Regions from separate parts of the Homo sapiens genome. Here region 1 is linked to region 2. The links are contacts of gene promoters, found by promoter capture Hi-C in blood cells and fetal thymus (Javierre and others, 2016). All regions are on one chromosome and are shown on one strand. Each heading gives the region's core, a stretch centred on a gene start or on the middle of the fragment in contact. The rest is flanking DNA. Distances are from core to core; before and after follow the strand shown. Region 1 holds the start of SRPX (sushi repeat containing protein X-linked). Region 2 holds the start of LANCL3 (LanC like family member 3).

The links. The method cuts DNA at HindIII sites, captures the fragments that hold promoters and counts their contacts. A CHiCAGO score of 5 or more calls a contact.
Region 1: the fragment with the promoter of SRPX here is called in contact with the fragment with the promoter of LANCL3 in region 2 in 8 of 17 cell types (monocytes, M1 macrophages, M2 macrophages and 5 more); the score reaches 9.8 in monocytes.

The regions. Positions count from the first base shown.
Region 1 is chrX:38,218,927-38,222,899 of GRCh38, reverse strand. It overlaps SRPX (sushi repeat containing protein X-linked), which reads left to right and starts at 2,029. Exons shown (of 10, transcript NM_006307.5): 1 at 2,029-2,204. The coding sequence starts at 2,108. It overlaps LOC124905176 (a long non-coding RNA gene), which reads right to left and starts at 1,992. Exons shown (of 2, transcript XR_007068212.1): 1 at 1,101-1,992. The HindIII fragment of the contact is 8,549 bases long and covers 1-3,973 here.
Region 2 is chrX:37,570,104-37,574,025 of GRCh38, reverse strand. It overlaps LANCL3 (LanC like family member 3), which reads right to left and starts at 2,365. Exons shown (of 5, transcript NM_001170331.2): 1 at 1,583-2,365. The coding sequence starts at 2,155. The HindIII fragment of the contact is 8,836 bases long and covers 1-3,922 here.

The sequences.
Region 1 (3,973 bases), core at 780-3,279, 650 kb before region 2:
ACTGGTTGTGGTGAAGACACATTGCTTCAGAGGTGACATAGGAAAGGAAGGCTGCTGGCCAGGCTATCCTGGACCTGGAATTTGGGGTGCACATTAACCCTTGTTTACAGACCTAAAGAAGTAGTTCTCTATTGGGGGCATTTTTCCCCTGGGGGACATTTGGCAATGTCTGGAGACATTTTTTTGGCTGCCATAACTGGGGAAAGGGGGATTGCTAGTGGTATCTGTTGCATAGAGGCCATCGATGCATCTCTCAACGTGCAAGGCAGTCCCCCTCCCCAAGAAAGAATCATCTAGCCCCAAATATCAATAGTGCCCAAGTTGAGAAACTCCTGGTCTAGAATTTTTATCCTATACTAAAACTTATACCGTGGAGCTTAGCGGATTGGGGAGAGACAAAAATATGCATCTGGTCAAACTCCAGGTCACATTCCTAAAGATTCTGATTTTATTAGTGTGAGGTAGAGCCTGGATATGGTATTTTCATGAAGCTCCCCAGGTGACCCACATAAACAAGGTTGAGAATGACTCCCTGGAAAGTCTGGTCTGATGGAGGCCACAGAATAGACTGACCTCCCCCATTTCCTTGCGACTAGGGGGTTATTTAAGGGTTGTTGGTTCCCTGAAGAGGTAGCAGCAGTGGAGAAACCCACAGGAGATGGAGCGAAGTCCCCCCAAGTGCTAGAGAGGGTAAGATGGACGTTCAAGTCTGGGGCTTTTGTGAGAATTGGGAAATGGCACTCCTTCTGGATAAACAAATTCAGAACTTCTAGGTGAGTGCCCCCAGGGCTCTTAGCCTAGCTATCAGACCAGACTACTGTGGCAGAGAGAAAGATGCCCTTCTAGTGGATGTGGCCCCTGCCAAGACGCAAAGCTCCCTGAACCCAAAGGCATTTGGATTTTGGCTCCCACTTGCCCCTTCCTCTGGATGCCTTTGTACAGTGCCCAAACTGCACAACCTAATGCAGCAACTCCAACTAAAATTTGCCTTAGCTAAGATCTTTCTGAGACAGCAAAGGGGCAACGTATTGCCTTACTGATTTAACAAGAACTAAACAACCAAAACAACAAACAAACAAACAAAACTATGAGAGGCTTACTCAAATGCCTCAAAGAAACCAGATCCGTCCTGCGGGCAGCCTAGAAACCCTGTCCTGATGCCAGGATCCAGCGATGCCAAGCCACAGGGAAGAGGCTCCAGTCTGGTCGTGGTATCTTTGGGGTGGTTGAGAACAACCCAGGAAATGAGGAAATCTGGCTGCAGGAACCTACAGCTGGATCCCCATGGCTGTGGGTGAGACAGAGAACTTTCTGTGCCTTGTGCTCTCCCATCAGCTGATCCTGGAAGGAGAACCTCAAGCCCCATCCTAAACCGCAGCAGAGCAGGCACGCACCCGGTCCAGTCCTTGATTTATTCCTTTGCAAAAGAGAAACAAACTAACAAAAAATCTGTAGTATGGACTTTGACGTCGGCAGAACTACACACCTAAGTTCCAGTCCCTGCTCTGCCAGTAACGGGGGTGAATCTGGGCAAGTTTCTAAGCGTCGGTGTCTTATTGGAGAAAGTGGACATGGTAATAGCGAACTTGGGGCATGGTCGTGAGGATCAAAACAGAGAACATGGCCATAGTATCCGGCCGCAGTGGGCCACTCTGAATCCCCTCGGTTGCCCCTTCTGTTTCCGTGTGACTCACGCAGCTTTCTGCACAGATGGTATCCTTCTAGACGTCTGGGATGTTCGAGGCGGTTGTATTGAATACCGTGTGTGTATTCCGGGTGAGGGGGCGCGCAAATTGGGGCAAAGAAAGCTACTTCAGGATATTTCGCTCTGCTGGGGCTTGTCTCCAGCGCTCTCTGGCCAGAAAAAGCGCTGGCACAAAAGGAGGAGGTGGGTGGGTCAGAGCCCCGAACCGCGCAGTGTTCCAGGGGGGGCGGAGAAAGGAGGGCAGGCCCCAGGCAGGAAGGAGGGAGGGAAAGAGGCGAGAGGAGGAGTTTTCCAGCCCGGCCTTCGCCCGCCCGCTAGCACGCAGTCCCTTGGTCTCTTCGGTCTCCTGCCGCCCCCGGGAAGCGCGCTGCGCTGCCGAGGCGAGCTAAGCGCCCGCTCGCCATGGGGAGCCCCGCACATCGGCCCGCGCTGCTGCTGCTGCTGCCGCCTCTGCTGCTGCTGCTGCTGCTGCGCGTCCCGCCCAGCCGCAGCTTCCCAGGTAGGATCGGAGGCGTGGCTGCCTCCTCAGCTGGGCACCAAAGACCCCCGGAGTCGCCGTTGGGACCCTTCGCTCGGGATAGAGGGAGGTGCCGGGGGCGCCCTTTGTTTGCGCAGAACTCCTCTTTCGCAGCCCGAGGGTGGGGATGATGCGGATCGGGGCTGGTGTCTGGGCACGCGCCGGGAAGAACTGACCATCCCATCTCCAGGCGCGGGGCGCCCTCGCGGCGACGGGAGCCCTAGCACCTTCTGCGTCCGGGCTTCCAGAGTTCCAATCAAACCCTTTTCGGTGTAGGAGGCTCCACAGAGAAAGTTTGGCCGCAGACTAGTTTGCTACTTTCTCACCCCCAGAATTTTGCCTCTCACATGGTTGCCCACTGGAGGCTGGCAGCTTGTCCTGGAAGGAGCCTCTATGCCCTCCCACTACACGTCCCAGGCTACCCCCTTGGGGCCGCAGGACACGAGCCACGGTAAAGCGACTTTTGTGGAAGGCACGGGCGGGGCCTCCCCTGAATCTCTTAACCCCCCCTGCTGGGGATTCCGAGAAAGTCTGCGCCTCTGAGGAAGAATTGCCAGCTGAGAGTGGTGACATGTGGCATGCACTTGATTAGCCCCAGGGAAAGAGGGCTACTCGCGCAAGGATCTGCTGGGCAGAGGGTGCGGCTTATTCCTGGAGGGCGTGGTCTCCGGCATCTAAGGGGGCCCTGGTGTTTCTTGGGGGCTCTCATGGTGTGAGCAAAATTCTCTTTGGAGATGCACTTTAAAAAGCTCCAGCTAACTTCCTCACCCTGGAGTCTTAGGTTAGCGAAGAGCTTCAGGGGAGTAGGGCAATGTGCCATGCACTCCTGTTGCCTCGGAATGGAGAGGAAATCCATGGATGCGTTTTAATTTAGTGTTAATGGGAAAGTGGGTGACGTCGGCTATAGGGCGTGCAAATATTTGGCTCTGCGTTCAACACCGTGGGCAGCTTAAATCTAGGGTATGAGAAATGAACCTACTGAGTTCTGGTAGAAGGATAGAGGATGCCCATCTTTCTAGCAGTGTGCTTGGGAGATGTAGGGATGGCTGCGGGAAATTCTCTGCACGCACCTAAATAAATGAATGAATAGAACAAATTTGTAAATTAATAAACAGGAACATTTGTGTTTTGAGCTGACTCTTAAGTTTTAAGCTGCTTTGTAGGAACTGATTCAGGGTAAAGTGGAAAGGAAATTTTATCCTTACTGCCAGGCAACTGTTATTCCCATGGTGTGTTAATACCTCCTCTCCCACCCCCTTTAGCAGGAATCAGGTTAAAATGAACCTGTAGGGGAAGAGGAAGTCATTAAGCGTCCCAGAAGCAGCTTTCTGGGAGCGGGCAAATAAGGTGAGAAGCTAGAGGTAGCTTTTCCGCACTGAGTTGGGAGGTGCCTGTGAGCTGCCTGGGAACCTCAACTTTTAGTTGAGCCTTTCTCAAGCTGGGGACCCCTTCTCCTTTTCCATCCGACCTCCCTCCGTTCTCCTCCCCTGCCCTCCCCTCTCCTTTCTCTCATCTTCCACCTTTATATAGTACAGCTTGCTACCAGGGCCCAGCCACAGAATCATGAGTTCGCCAGTTTGGGCATTCACTACCACCTGTCTTTTGGGACCTATCCCTGGCTTTCCTGGCTCCCTCTGCCAGCCTGCAAGCTGCTCCCAACTTTTAGCCACCATGTTCCTGCTTGCCACCACCTCCACTGACTCCTAACCTGCCCTCCGGCTCTGCTCAGACCACAAATGAGCTGAAGCTGA
Region 2 (3,922 bases), core at 1,116-3,615:
GGAGCAGGGGCCAAAGCACCTCAACTCGATTAGTAAAAAAAAAAAAAGACCTGGTTTGGCAGGAGGGCAGAAGAGAGGTCTTAATAGATGTCTTGTGTGGATCAGTGTTGCAGAATGGCCTGAACCACCAGTTTTTGGGCAGAGTCCTTCTGGTCTGCTTCCACCTGTGTGATCTAGTGGTCACACACTCTTCCCATTCCATTCTGGAAAAAAGGCCTCAAGGCATGGAAAGGGGAAGAGGCAAGATTAAGGAAAACAATTGGAAAAAAAAATTTGAAAATTGCCTGCTGCCAGACTACAAGGTGAGGGGAGCAGATGCAAATGCAATGCAAATGATATGTAAATATCTCTGTGGCCTTCTAAAAGGTTTTCTACAACTGGAAGGGCATTTGAAAAACTGCTGGCAGTTAACAGTGACTCAGAAGCAGAGCAAACTATTTCAAGACAACTTTGTGACATAAACCTTTGCTGCCCAGCTAACACAGTGCACATTCTTTAGTAATCTTTTTTCTCACTTGAATCAACCTCACCTGCTATTAAAAAAAAACCCTGTCTGCCTCTGTAGAGGTGATCTAAGTTAATTACTCTTTTAAAACACTCTATATACCTTTAATTTTTCTTCAAACGCCTTTCTCACCTAAATAAAGCCAAGTTAAATGTGTCACTTCCTCCCTAGAACAGTAGTTGGCTCCAGGGGATTATGAATGAAAGTGCCTCTCTCTCCGTTCTAGTCACTATGATCCTTCAGAGTTTTGTTCTTTTTCCTACTCCACAGGAACTGGCATATTCTCTTCTAATAACCACATGCTGATTTCAAAGTGAGTCCAGGAAAAAATATGTATGTGAAAACCAATTCACTTTTAGGAGCCACTGTAAAGTTATTCATCAAGAAAAGCTGCCCTGTCAAGAAAGCTGTGGTCTTGCCCATCCTAAGCAAATATTTTTAAGTGAAATAATGCACATTCAACCACAATGGGGTACATTTCCGGGTACGTTTCCGTCTACATTTATGTATTTTTAAAGGGGACACTCCTATCAGATATGCATTTAATAAGAGCCATGGGTTGAACTGAATAGTAAGCAAAACAGTAAACACATCAGACCCACAGCTGAGCAGTTATTCTTGGTTACAGACCCAGGGCTCCAGAAGCAACTTACCTCCACATCGGCCCCGAAAAGTTCCATTACTTTCTAGCACTCTAACATTCGAGGATGCCTCAGCTTTTGACAGCAGAGTCAAAGGAAAGGAAATCCCTTCCATTTCTGAGGTTTTCATCTTACTTGAAAGGGCCACACTGTCATCCCCCAGAAAGCTAACAGGCATCTGGAGTGATGCCACGTAAAAACACGAACAAAGCGCAGAGACGCCGAATCTCAACAAATGAGAGACTGAAAACGACAGGAAAGAAGAGGGACAAAAGCAGGAGATAGACCTCAAGGGACTGAAGAAATGCTAGCACCACACCAAGAGTAACAAAGACTTGGAGAGCAACTCGGGACAGTGCTGCCCGAGCCACGGAGTCCGGGGAAAGGAGGCCGGGCAGGCGGCGAGCGCCCTCCCGCGGCCCGGGCTACCTCTTACCTCCTGGGCGAGTTTCTGCTTGAGCACCAGCGCGGCACACAGGTAACCCGCGCGGCCCACGAACAGCTCGTCGGAGCCGCACTCCAGGAAGGAGACCGGCGCGCAGACGGCACACAGAGCCCGGAACTTGCCCAGCGGCTGCACGTAGTCGGACCGGCCCAGGGCGTGGTATACGAGCGTGGCCACGGCGTACACGCCCGCGCCCCCGAGCAGGAAGGCGGCGCGGGTGTCGGCGTCCGGTTCGCCCCACTCCTCAGCGCGGGCGCACGCGTCGATGAGGCGCTTAGCCGAGCGCAGGTAGCGTTCCCGGGCCGTGGCGAAAAGCGGGCTCTGCGAGACGTGGTAGAGCATATACGCCACTCCGGCCACGCCGCCATAAAGCCCCCCCTGGCAGGCGCTAGCCCCCGCCGTCGCCCCTCGGGCCTCCGCGCCGCCCCCGAGTGGGGGAAGCTCCTGGAGGATGCGCTCGATGGTGGCGGTGACCAAGGGCGCCACCGCCTCCTCACACTGGCCCGCCAGCAGGCTGCCCTGGTAGTCATCGAAGCGATTGGCGAAGCAGCGCTTGGTGTCCATGCTGTTGCCCGTGCCCCCTAGTGCGGAGCTGAGGACCGCTTGAAGTCGTGCCCTGCAGCCCCGCACACCACCTCCGGCTCTCTGAGGCACTCGGATGCCGGTGTATGCGGCGGGGAAGGAGCGAGAAGGATGAGACGGGAGGTGACAAGAGGAGGCGGGCAAGGAGCGGATGGCCAAGTGGGGCGCCGGGCTGCCGCGAGGCTCCCGAGTGGCCCGGGCGATCGCGGGGGATGCGTGTCCTGCGCCCCCCCTCAGAGGCCGCGCCCTCGCTGAACCCGCCCCCTCCTGCGCCGCCGCAGCTTGGCTGCCTCTTCAAGGGGCCGAGGTGATCTCTGGCAGGACCCACGCGGGGCCCGCGCCACTCCTCCCGCTCCGCCCCCGACTCCTCCCCTACTGGCAGAAGGCCGAGGACGTGCGGGACACTGATCTGGAACGCTGGGACTCAGCATACACACACCTGGCGGTAGAGGTGATGGTCTCCAGTCCCTTGTATACTCAAAGTGTGGTCCTTGGGTTAGAAGCATCAGCATCACCCGGGGGCATGTTAAAAACGCAGCATCTCAGGCTTCACTCCAGACCTATTGACTCCAAATCTGAATATTCAGCAAGATTGCCAGGTGATTCGCATGCACATTAAAGTTTGAGGCGCCACTGAACTAGGCTAGAGTAGCAAGACAAAACTGGGCGCCTTCTTTGAAGTTTGTATTTCATCTTGGTCGCTTCGGAGTTCTCATTATGAATGTTTCAATCCCAAAGGCTGGGGCATTTGAGCACATCATGTTTAATGCATTAAAACGGTGAAATACCCCATACAGGAACTTTTTTCCCAGCTTTGATTTTTGTATTGTTTTCTTCGAGTATACAGGAGTAAAAAGTCAAAGAACCACACCAGGTTAAGGCAAGGAAGGGGCACGCCCCTCCTGCCATGCGTGCATAGTAAAAGCTCAATACATATCTTGAGGTCATTAACTAGTTAATATTAGGATAAACGCTCTGTGAGAATTTAATTAGGCTTTTTATCTCCCCCTTCCCTCCCTTCTTTTCCCATGTTTGTCCTCTTCTGCTTTTTTCCCAAGGGCGTTGTGGAGGGTCTCCTATGTGTCCTGAAACCTGGAAATAGAGGGATGAATAAGATAGACATGGTCCTAGACCCCTTGTAGCTTACAATTCAGTAGGAAAAAACAGAAAATGAACAATTACACAAGCTAGTTGCCTTTCTTGTGCTCAGCTGTTTGAAATAATTCTGCCTTTCCCAAAGTGTTGACTCTTGAAGACTAAAGAGGTCACGTCTCCCAGGAGTATTTGACTTTTGATAGGGACTGTGCAAGACATAAAGGAGTAAGTGGCTCATAGAACAGTTTCTGATACTTTGTGGGGAGAGTAACTACTCCACTTACTTGAAAGGCCAGTTTGGAGGCATTTTTTTTTCCTCAGAAGTGTTAAATGTCACCATGATTGGGAAGCAGATATTAAATACCCTGCCCCTCCACCCTTACTTGATGTAGTCTGGGAAAGAACCTTAGTTTGCCAACATGATTGCCAGGACTGACACATCCACATAGTTCAAGGACAGTATGGCCATCGTCCCCCTTTGATGCTGCCAAAACAGGTTTATTTTTAATAATAATAATAATGATAAAAGTCCACTTTTAGGCAGGGAGCTTGATATGTTAAAGGAGGAAAAGGCATCAAAGAAGCAACAGGAATGTTGAGTTTCTCCTTGAGACTTCCTTCCTCATCCCTCAACCATAACAGACATTAGAGGTG